4 separate regions of the Homo sapiens genome follow, and all the other regions are linked to region 1. The links are contacts of gene promoters, found by promoter capture Hi-C in blood cells and fetal thymus (Javierre and others, 2016). All regions are on one chromosome and are shown on one strand. Each heading gives the region's core, a stretch centred on a gene start or on the middle of the fragment in contact. The rest is flanking DNA. Distances are from core to core; before and after follow the strand shown. Region 1 holds the start of ASNSD1 (asparagine synthetase domain containing 1). Region 2 overlaps LOC124906110 (a long non-coding RNA gene). Region 3 overlaps NAB1 (NGFI-A binding protein 1). Region 4 overlaps STAT1 (signal transducer and activator of transcription 1).

Region 1 (2,843 bases), core at 141-2,640:
AGCCTCCGAGTAGCTGGGACTACAGGCCTGGGCCACCATGCTGGCCTGGGCTTCATTTATTTGTAGGGGAGGGCTCAACTAAGTGAAAACTAAGTTTCTTTTTAACTCTATTTATTTTGTGAACATGACTGATTACATAGTATCACAAGAGCCTCTAAAAGCAGCTTTTATCATATTTGTGCTACCTCACACACACCTCAGGGATCTGTAACCACCAGTATGCGTAAGTGGCTTGCTATGGTGGTAATCAGAATGGGCTGTGTGTCTTTTGAAAATTCACCCCCAATCCCCATGAATGTGCACCTTTCTGTCTCCCCCGTTGGCAGAGCTGTAGTAATGAGGTTGAATTCCAAGGCCAAATTTGTAAACATTCTTTGAGACTTAACATTTATACAGGGCTTTCCCATTTTAGGAATGACAGGTGTACATTTCACTTTACTTCAAAGAAGGTAACTGATACAGAAAGATTAAAGAGACTTGCCCAAGATGTCATTGTAAGTTTGGGACAGAACCAAAGTAGAATCTAGGACATGTAATACCTGAAGGGCTATAACCCTCGCCACCCCCATTTATCTTTAAAGGTTGTTTGTTTATGGCAGTTAAGGCTTATATTATATTGGCTTCCTCTCTCCCCCAGTTTGGTATGAGTGACAACCCAATGCGTGTTTTAGGACCATTGCTCTGGTTAACGGAGAAGCAGCAGCTAACAGGTGGATGAGGAGAGACCGCTTAGGAAGGCCTTGCCGGGGGCAGGGGTCCCGATAGCAGATGACGGTGGCTTATTTGGGGTGGTAAGAGTGTTCACGGTGATAAAGGGACATATTTGAAATGAGCTTCAAAGGTAGAACTGATAGGCTTCCATGATGGGGGTCAAGGATGGACCCCGGGTTGCTGGCATGGTTAACTGGATGGAGAATATCTTTGATGGAACAGATTTGGGGTGGGCGGTATTTCCAAAAGTTTAAAAAGACTAGGGAGGAAAACACCCAACCAAAACTCCGCCCCACTGTCACCTGGGTCCAGTCTCGGGACAAATTTCAAGATCTCCCTTTTCGCAACTGTTTTCAGAAAATAAAAGGACTAACTGTGGCTGTCAAGTGCTATGAATAAAAAGAGCAAAGTAGCAGGGCAAAGCCGAGGCCCAGGCAGGCCCCACGCTGCCCGCTGCGGACCACCTTCAGGGTCCAGTGGCGCCCGGTCCCGAGTCCAGGAGCCTTTTCGTCGCGTCTCACACTCACCTTGCTGCTTAGATCCTCCTTGTGTGGGGTCGAATTGTCGGTGGGGATCAGCACAGAGCTGTCCTCTGGTCGCGTCCCTCGGCTGGGCATTTCCACCGAGCGCAAGACACGCGGGATGGCTCAGCCCTGAAGGAGCCTACGGCATTAGCCACAGCGCATGCGCGCTTCCAGCCGCGCTCACCCTTTCTTTTCCCGCGAGTCTTACCAATAGCGTCTGCGCGCTCACTTGAACGCATGCGCAGGCCGGGTCTGGCCTGGGGAGGAGTTTCGCGCCTGCGCATGGCTGCTTAGGGAGCGAGTAAACAGTCTGGTTGCAAAATCTGAGGTTCCTGTACTGGCCTCTTGTGGTTGAGATGCAGAAACGCTCAGGTGGTTTCTTCATGACCTCTTATCTAGTATACTACGAGTTCTGTGCGCCCTCCAGTGGTAAATATGAAGAATAGTCGTGCAATAGAAACAGCGCTTAATATGATATTTATTATCTAGGGAAAGATGAAGCTAAGGAACAGATTTAAGAGATACCGTGTTGGCAAAAGAACTGTACAGACTTGGTAAAGTTTTGGTTAACTCGTGGTTAGGGTTGCCGGATAAAATACAGTATGAACTTCAGATGAATTAATAGTTTTTTAGTGCATCTATGTCCCGTGCAATATTTGCAATATCTCATTTCTGTGGAAAAAATGACTAAAACTTGGAAATAGGCAAAAGAGATTTATTTACTGGATGCTCTTTCAGTGCTGCTCTGGACTTGACTTTATTATATTGACTGGGCTGTTTTACAATTCTGTAGGGGCAAAGGTTAACTTTGGTAGAGATTTTGGTTTGGTAGAGATGCAAATAATTTTTTGTTGTACCAGATACCAACACAGGTTATGATTTATTGTTCTGCAACACATTAGTCAGTTTTGTATCTAACCCTGCATTCTGTCCTAACATTTCTTTATTAACATATGCCTAGCTTCTCTAATATTCTGTATTGGTTTTAAAGTCATCGGTTCCCTCACTAACCAATGAGTTGAATAAAAGTTTGACATGTATATATTTTATGTTCACATTAGAGACATGATTTTAGGTTTTTGATAATTATACTATATTATTGGAAATCTTAAGTTTCCACAGAGATGCCCAACTGGATTTATGTGATGAATCAAACTATCTGGCGAAAGAAATGTATACATCATGGGTTGTTTAAGGCCAGGCATGTTTTTTATTTGCTCTTACAGAAAACCCAAGTGGTTATATATTTTTCCTTTATAATTGATTTTTAAAGATTGTGTTTTCATTTCTGATTTGTACATTCCTGATAAGTTATTCAGGTATAACTTATACATTACTGATACATTGATAGCAGCAATGATTGGGAGTTTGGTTTTGTGGTCTAACCATTTGGTGGTATCTGTTGGATGATGGACGTCTAGTCTCATTGGTAGAGAGGTAGATAGGTGCAGTGGCTCAAACCTGTAATCGCAACCACTCGGGGCTGAGGTGGGAGGATTACTTGAGGCCAGGGGTTCAAATAAATAAATAAGAGAGGTGACAGAGAAGCGAGTTTGTAAGTCTTTTTGTTTATTGTTTGTGAGCTCAAATTAATTAATTACTTTTGTG
Region 2 (2,700 bases), core at 90-2,589, 1.2 Mb before region 1:
CTTCATCCCTCTCCCAAATGTAACATTTGCTTGAAACTTTCCATGATTGGCTACTACCCAGACGTGAAGTGTTTTGGAAAAAATGAGCAAAATCCTTTCAGCTATGCGACTTAAGCCATGGGAGGGTGGAGGTGGAGGGAGGGCGACGAGTGGCGAGGCGGGGTGGGGGGGTTGCGGAATCCAGAATACGACAGCTTTCTTTTTTAAAAATTATTTTTTTTAAATGTACACCGATACTTCAAAAATAGTTTTGAATAGCAATGATTCCGTTAACGCTATTTGCTTGAAAGCAAAACTGTAGATACTTTTCTATTTTAAAAACTGCTTCACTGTTTTAAAATAGAAGCGTTGGAATACGGGTTCTCTAAGTTATTTCAGCATCACTTTATCCATTTATCCTTTTGGACCTGTGGAAAAACAGCCAAGAACCTGATAAACTGAGTTATTCCCTGAGGCTACATACACATTACATTCCAGGACAAAAAAATGTTTTTAGACTATTTCCTGAAACAATTAGGTTTAAATGGAGTAGATCCACAGAGTTTAATAAGATGTTTTGGGGGTTGGTGTGTTGTTACTGTGTTGTTGTGTGTGTTCGTTTTGAGAAAGGGTCTCACTCTGTCGCCCAGGCTGAAGTGCAGTGGCGCGATCACGGCTTACTGCAGCCTTGAACTCAGGGGCCCCGGTGATCCTCCCACCTCAGCCAGCACCTGCTTTTTTTTTTTTTTTTTTTTGTATTTTTGGTAGAGACGGGGTTTCGCCAGGTTGCCCAGGCTGGTTTCGAGGGATCTGCACCCCCTGGGCCTCCCAAATTGCTGGGATTACAGGCGTGAGCCACCACGCCCGGCCTAATGAGGTGATTTTTATGAAACTAGAAGGGTGTATGTCAGGTGCATCATTAATTGATAACCGGATTTAGTAATCTAGTGAACTGTAAAATATTTCAATAGATTAATAATTAGGAAATCTGGCTGTACCTACAGGTTATGTGACCTTTGGCATGTTACAGCCTTGCCGTGTTTTAAGTTTTTTTTTTCTATCTGCTCTTTAACCAGAAGAACATGGAAAAAACTATCATGTGTAAAACATAGTCACCTTTTTTATTTAAAAAAAAAAAAGCAGGACAATGGGAAAGTACTTAGATAGCTTTTATTACTAATGTTACTTGTCCAAAAATGTTGATGAATCAAAGTAATGATATATTCAGGAATAGAGACATCAAGTTTCAGAGGAAAGGTAACAAATATTACCCCTGCCTAACCCTGACTTGTTAATGACTTGCAGACTTTAATATTGTCCAATATATTAGCTGCAATTAGTTATCAATTTTAACTGCCTCTTTTTTCTCAACAACACAAAGCAACTGACAATCCAGTTACTGTTTTCCTCTCAGTTTCTCCCTTAATTTCTCTGAGTTTCTTATGAAAATTGTTTTAGATATTTAAAGGTTTAAAGGCTTTATAGTTCACTTAACAAATAAGAAAGCTAACCTAGTAACAGATTATTTTCTAGAGTTTCTAGTTTCTAGAGTTTTATTTTCTGGTAGTTTCCAGACTTTCTGCTTTTGGTGAGAATGGATAGATATTACTCCCAAAATTTGGAAGAATTGAGTCCACTGAAATTTAACCCCTTGTTTGAGAAGGCTAATGAAAAGGTTATAGACAGCAAAGAAACTATTATAAATAGAATAAAAATGTGACTCAATACTTTCATTTGATTCTTTTCTTCATCTTATATAATTTTTTAATCTTTAAAGATATTTTTATCTACAACTTTGTAACCATTACACAACTTTGAAGTTTCAGTTATGTTAAATTGAATTATATCATTACATAAACTCATGTAATCATCATGTAAAAAGTATAAAAACATTTGTATACATACAATAAGTAGTCCACCAAAATATCTACAAATAGAAAAATGCTCTCCACATTAACTATGGTTGGGTTGTCAGATCTACTCTTCGACTTCCTTTTTGCTCCTAAGTGCAGCTACACTACAAAGAGTTGCTGTCCCATAGCCATCATCAGGTAATCAGCCATCAAAAGGAATAATTGGAATTTGTGCACTTTGTGTCTGTTCTAACTTGAAGAAAGGTTCCTGTGCTTCTATGTTCCTGAGCTTCTTTGTTCTGTCGAAGATTACAAAAGGCTAATGTTTCAAGATCATAATAAAATCCATATATAGGCCGGGCGCGGTGGACTCACACCTGTAATCCCAGCACTTTGGGAGGCTGAGGCGAGCAGATCACAAGGTCAGGAGATTGAGACCATCCTGGCTAACACGGTTAAACCCCATCTCTACTAAAAATACAACGATTAGCTGGGCGTGGTGGCACACACCTGTAATCCCAGCTACTTGGGAGGCTGAGGCAGGAGAATCACTCAAACCTGGGAGGCCGAGGTTACAGTGAGCCAAGATCGCACCACTGCACTCCAGCCTGGCAACAGAGCGATACTACATCTCAAAAAATAAAATAAAATAAGATAAAATAATATATATATATAGAAATTCCAGATTGCGCCTTCACAAAAACTAGTAGATTATTTGTTGACCTAGAACTAAAAAGAAAGTAATTTTCCTTTGACTAACAGCTTAAAAGAATTGCCTAAGCCTTTTTTTGAAATTCTTCTGTTTGGAGAATAGAGTAAGGTTCAGGAAGCCTCTAAACAAGCTTCTGCTACTACTTCCCTTTCTTCT
Region 3 (2,700 bases), core at 102-2,601, 1.0 Mb before region 1:
TTAATCACAGTGTTTCCTTGCTGACGAGACTCTGGGTCTGATCACTGAGAAAATAAAAGCTATGGGACGGAGGCTGGTGCATGACCTAATTACTCTCATCCCATTGGTCTCCATCCCCATGCCTCCTCATCCTTTCTGCCGAACACTAGCAAGCTGCTTTAAAGCCACTGCTTAGCTGTCTCTAGATGACTTGTTACAGCAGATGTTCTCAACCCCACATGTGCATTTTCCTTTTTTCTAATCACACTTTCTGTATGAATAGCATATTGTAATGCTTCTGTTTTTTCTGATCCAGAGGGGAAGAGTCTACGTCAAATTAGACCAGCTTTCTTTTCAACAAGCTTAGTAGCAGCGTAGGTGGATATTCTGAACCTCTTTCCTCCCCCTTCCTTGCTCTCCCACCCCCACCTTGCTGGAACTGCTAGCAGATGTTTCCTTTAGGTCTTTCTTCTTCAAGCCCCAGTTCTCTGACTTCCTGGGCTCTATTAACAAACCTCATTTCTTTCATCCACTTATCTCTGAATGCTTTGCACCTCTGACTCCCACAGGGTCAAGAATGCTGTCATTTCCCATCTCTGCCCAGTCTCCAGCAATTTCAGCGAATGAAGAAAACTCAAATGAGAAATAGCACTCAGTCCAGTTAGTCAGCTGCCATCACCAGGTCTGAGACTGTAGCTTTATATATCCTTCCTCCCTTCTAAGATGTTACTTATAACATTGGAGTTAATAACAAATTTGTTCATGGAACTGAATGTGTTCTTAATGAAAAAGAAAGGTTACCAATTGAATTCACTTTTAACTAACATTTAAAAAAATTTAGGAGAAGACAAGAGAGCCAGGGACTTTGGCTCTTGATTTTTCATCCCCTTGAATGAGCTGTCAAGCCACCTTAAATATGTTCTTTCATAGGTAGGACATAAGGAAATCAAACTAATTTTTCTGATTTACTCTGTGTATCTTCCCAACACAAGGTTTTTACTCATAAACAATCAGCATATCAAATGAAAATTTCTTATATTTAAATATTTTGTAATTTACATTGTTAAATTTTCTACTCAAAACTTGTAACTGTTTACTACATAACATTTCTTGGATTAGAAAATAATAACTGCCACCATCCACCCTTTTCAAAGACTACCAGTCCTGCACACATTTCGCCCTTCACACGGTACTAGGAGGAAAGGTATAACCCCAATAGTGTTTTTTTCACAGGTAAGATGCTTTGTGAATAATCATTAGCACCTAGGAAGGTGGTACTGCTTTGACATTCAGGAATCAGACATAGATAGGAAGCCCCGGCTCTGCTACTGGATAGCAGTTTGGCAACACAGGTGAAGATACTGAGCCTGTCTGGGTCTCTCCTTGGCTGTAAAATGGAAATCATAAAGCCTCCACATAGGTTAGACAAGAATGTTTGTGATAATGAATTCCAAATGTCTAGTAGGGACTGACACAAAATAAAAGCAATACAAAGTAGCGATTTTTACAATTGCCCCAGAATGAGAAGATTTAATTAGATCTAATTCAAAAGATAAGTAAGAATAAACAAAATCTATTTTCATTTCAGCTGAAAGTGGACTCACAGAGGGCTGTGTTCCAGTGGACATGTTATTCATTCCGTCTAAGCAGAAGGATTCCAACCTCACTTACTAACTAGCTGAAGAAACGTTTCCCTAGAGATTTCATTCCAAATGGTAGGTTCCTTAAGGCACACCTAAGCTAGCAGGCGATCTTTTTCTCCATGTCCATCTCATATATTCTAGGAATTAAAGTTCAAAATCTGTTTTTTAATGTTTAACATACCCTGTAAGGAGGAACACTATTTAAGGACAACAGATTATCTTGATTACTTCTATGCAATGTGTATACTGCTATTTTTTTTTTAAATCAAATAAGTAACTATCCTTTAAGGGGGAACAACCTACTACATAAATAAGAGCTTTCCAGGTAGAAAAATCAGACAAGTCAATGAATTATAACTTCATTCCACCCAAGCCTTCATGTATAGATCAGGAAAACACAGTATTTAGGAACGAAAGATCTTACTGAGCTTGAACACAGCACTACTTGTATTAGTGTACCCTAATGCATTAATAATGACAAGCAAAAAAATGTTTCTCTTTCCTTTACATGTCAAATTATTTTGATGTTATTTTATTTTATCTGCTCAACATTACATTTCTTTTTGTTCCCTGTAAAAATTATGTTTTTAAGATGGAAAAAGCCAGCAATGTGGCACATATGCTTATTGTTATAAAGGATTTTAGAACACTTAAAGATTTGAAAAAAGAGAAAAACTTGTCTCATTAGTTTGGGCCTTGTAATTAGAAATCTGTTACACTATAAAATGGGCTAAGCTTAAGTTTATTTGTACGTTACTTAAAAACTTTTTTTCCTTTGTTTGAGACAAGGTTGTGCTCTGTTGCCCGGGCTGGAGTGCAGTGGGGCAGTGATTCTCCCACCTCAGCCTCCTGATTAGCTGGGACTACAGGCACATGCCATCATGCCTGGCTAATTTTTGTAAGGATGGGGTTTTGCCATGTTGCCCAGGCTGGTCTCAAACTCCTGGACTCAAGCAATCCATCTGCCTCAGCCTCACAAAGTGCTGGGATTACAGTCATAAGCCACCATGCTCAGTCTTGTATATTACTTTCTTTAAATAGAAAATAACAAGCTGAGAATCACAAGAGAAAGACTCAA
Region 4 (2,700 bases), core at 1-2,500, 1.3 Mb before region 1:
TTAGCCCAGGATAATACATAGTACATGCTGAAGGCCCTCTTATTCCACGGTATTTATTTGCCATTGCAAGTATCTTCCTACTACTTCATTCTAGAATAGACAAGCAATGTTTAATGTATGAGTCTGCATTTCACAAGATCAGTGTAATAAACTTAACCACATTTTGTCTTTTTACAGATGAACACAGTATAGAGCATGAATTTTTTTCATCTTCTCTGGCGACAGTTTTCCTTCTCATCTGTGATTCCCTCCTGCTACTCTGTTCCTTCACATCCTGTGTTTCTAGGGAAATGAAAGAAAGGCCAGCAAATTCGCTGCAACCTGTTGATAGCAAGTGAATTTTTCTCTAACTCAGAAACATCAGTTACTCTGAAGGGCATCATGCATCTTACTGAAGGTAAAATTGAAAGGCATTCTCTGAAGAGTGGGTTTCACAAGTGAAAAACATCCAGATACACCCAAAGTATCAGGACGAGAATGAGGGTCCTTTGGGAAAGGAGAAGTTAAGCAACATCTAGCAAATGTTATGCATAAAGTCAGTGCCCAACTGTTATAGGTTGTTGGATAAATCAGTGGTTATTTAGGGAACTGCTTGACGTAGGAACGGTAAATTTCTGTGGGAGAATTCTTACATGTTTTCTTTGCTTTAAGTGTAACTGGCAGTTTTCCATTGGTTTACCTGTGAAATAGTTCAAAGCCAAGTTTATATACAATTATATCAGTCCTCTTTCAAAGGTAGCCATCATGGATCTGGTAGGGGGAAAATGTGTATTTTATTACATCTTTCACATTGGCTATTTAAAGACAAAGACAAATTCTGTTTCTTGAGAAGAGAATATTAGCTTTACTGTTTGTTATGGCTTAATGACACTAGCTAATATCAATAGAAGGATGTACATTTCCAAATTCACAAGTTGTGTTTGATATCCAAAGCTGAATACATTCTGCTTTCATCTTGGTCACATACAATTATTTTTACAGTTCTCCCAAGGGAGTTAGGCTATTCACAACCACTCATTCAAAAGTTGAAATTAACCATAGATGTAGATAAACTCAGAAATTTAATTCATGTTTCTTAAATGGGCTACTTTGTCCTTTTTGTTATTAGGGTGGTATTTAGTCTATTAGCCACAAAATTGGGAAAGGAGTAGAAAAAGCAGTAACTGACAACTTGAATAATACACCAGAGATAATATGAGAATCAGATCATTTCAAAACTCATTTCCTATGTAACTGCATTGAGAACTGCATATGTTTCGCTGATATATGTGTTTTTCACATTTGCGAATGGTTCCATTCTCTCTCCTGTACTTTTTCCAGACACTTTTTTGAGTGGATGATGTTTCGTGAAGTATACTGTATTTTTACCTTTTTCCTTCCTTATCACTGACACAAAAAGTAGATTAAGAGATGGGTTTGACAAGGTTCTTCCCTTTTACATACTGCTGTCTATGTGGCTGTATCTTGTTTTTCCACTACTGCTACCACAACTATATTATCATGCAAATGCTGTATTCTTCTTTGGTGGAGATAAAGATTTCTTGAGTTTTGTTTTAAAATTAAAGCTAAAGTATCTGTATTGCATTAAATATAATATGCACACAGTGCTTTCCGTGGCACTGCATACAATCTGAGGCCTCCTCTCTCAGTTTTTATATAGATGGCGAGAACCTAAGTTTCAGTTGATTTTACAATTGAAATGACTAAAAAACAAAGAAGACAACATTAAAACAATATTGTTTCTAATTGCTGAGGTTTAGCTGTCAGTTCTTTTTGCCCTTTGGGAATTCGGCATGGTTTCATTTTACTGCACTAGCCAAGAGACTTTACTTTTAAGAAGTATTAAAATTCTAAAATTCTATTAATCTCTCATTAATAGTATTTAATATAAAGATTCTTAAAATTACTGACGTTATGAATTGGTTTGATGCTTTTCTCATGTACCTCAATCCTTATTTTAAAATAAGATCAATAACACTATTTTCCTAAATGTTGTCCTTACCTGCCCTACACATATTCAGAATTGCTATGGCAGATTAAGACATGTCAATGGAAGAGGTCAGAGGAGTAATATTATTGGCAACAGCTGTAATAGGTGCCATAAAAAGCAAACAAACAAAAGTATTTTGGTTCTTTGCGACCACAGCTGTCCCCAAATATACAGATGATTCAGCACTTATTTTAAAATGAATCTGGGTATTGCTAATACCCCCAAATTAGCAGTTTTTAATTTTAAAATACATGAGAAATGGGACTTTGTCTTGTCTCCAAAGCAGTCATCTAAAATCTACACCCCCACGATTAGATGAGTTATTACTGAGAAGTTATTGCACCCACAAAAAAGCTGCCATTTTTTTCCAAAGATGTCAAAAGCTAGAAGGCCAGGTCTTCTCAAAGTAAAATACACTGTGTATTGGGGAAAAAAGGGTAAGAGGCATAATTACCAAGTTAGGCATAGTCTGTCAAGTTGTATTTAGCTATTATCATGGAATAGTGTTATTCCCTGATAATGAATGTTGGCATCATAACCAGAATGATTATTCTCATCTCCATATCTTCGTATTTACATCTAGGAAATATAAAGCTTATTTATAGTGAACACTGAGAGTGGTCTCTCTCCAAGGAGTAAAGTAAATATGCCCTGGCTAACTAGTGTAAGTTTGTATTCTACATAATTAACCATTATAAGAAGTCACTGAG

The links. Contacts are between HindIII fragments. The CHiCAGO score rates a contact against its expected background, and 5 or more counts as called.
Region 2: a fragment that was not itself captured here is called in contact with the fragment with the promoter of ASNSD1 in region 1 in 1 of 17 cell types (non-activated CD4 T cells); the score reaches 5.2 in non-activated CD4 T cells.
Region 3: a contact is called between a fragment that was not itself captured here and the fragment with the promoter of ASNSD1 in region 1, in 1 of 17 cell types (neutrophils). The highest score is 5.4, in neutrophils.
Region 4: a fragment that was not itself captured here is called in contact with the fragment with the promoter of ASNSD1 in region 1 in 1 of 17 cell types (neutrophils); the score reaches 5.2 in neutrophils.

What each region holds. Positions count from the first base shown.
Region 1 is chr2:189,660,006-189,662,848 of GRCh38, reverse strand. It overlaps ASNSD1 (asparagine synthetase domain containing 1), which reads right to left and starts at 1,390. Exons shown (of 6, transcript NM_019048.4): 1 at 1,239-1,390. It overlaps ASDURF (ASNSD1 upstream open reading frame), which reads right to left and starts at 1,390. Exons shown (of 4, transcript NM_001353493.2): 1 at 1,239-1,390. The coding sequence starts at 1,328. RefSeq lists an enhancer at 1,143-1,332. The HindIII fragment of the contact is 6,437 bases long and covers 1-2,843 here.
Region 2 is chr2:190,877,613-190,880,312 of GRCh38, reverse strand. It overlaps LOC124906110 (a long non-coding RNA gene), which reads left to right. Exons shown (of 2, transcript XR_007087791.1): 2 at 1-2,700. Among named protein-coding and RNA genes, the nearest start is that of GLS, 1.9 kb to the left of the region's middle. RefSeq lists an enhancer at 1-104. The HindIII fragment of the contact is 2,674 bases long and covers 3-2,676 here.
Region 3 is chr2:190,676,386-190,679,085 of GRCh38, reverse strand. The region is part of intron 6 of NAB1 (NGFI-A binding protein 1); the gene reads right to left. Among named protein-coding and RNA genes, the nearest start is that of NAB1, 29 kb to the right of the region's middle. RefSeq lists an enhancer at 299-348. The HindIII fragment of the contact is 2,016 bases long and covers 344-2,359 here.
Region 4 is chr2:190,968,195-190,970,894 of GRCh38, reverse strand. It overlaps STAT1 (signal transducer and activator of transcription 1), which reads left to right. Exons shown (of 25, transcript NM_007315.4): 25 at 178-1,746. The coding sequence ends at 192. Among named protein-coding and RNA genes, the nearest start is that of STAT1, 45 kb to the left of the region's middle. The HindIII fragment of the contact is 2,672 bases long and covers 1-2,586 here.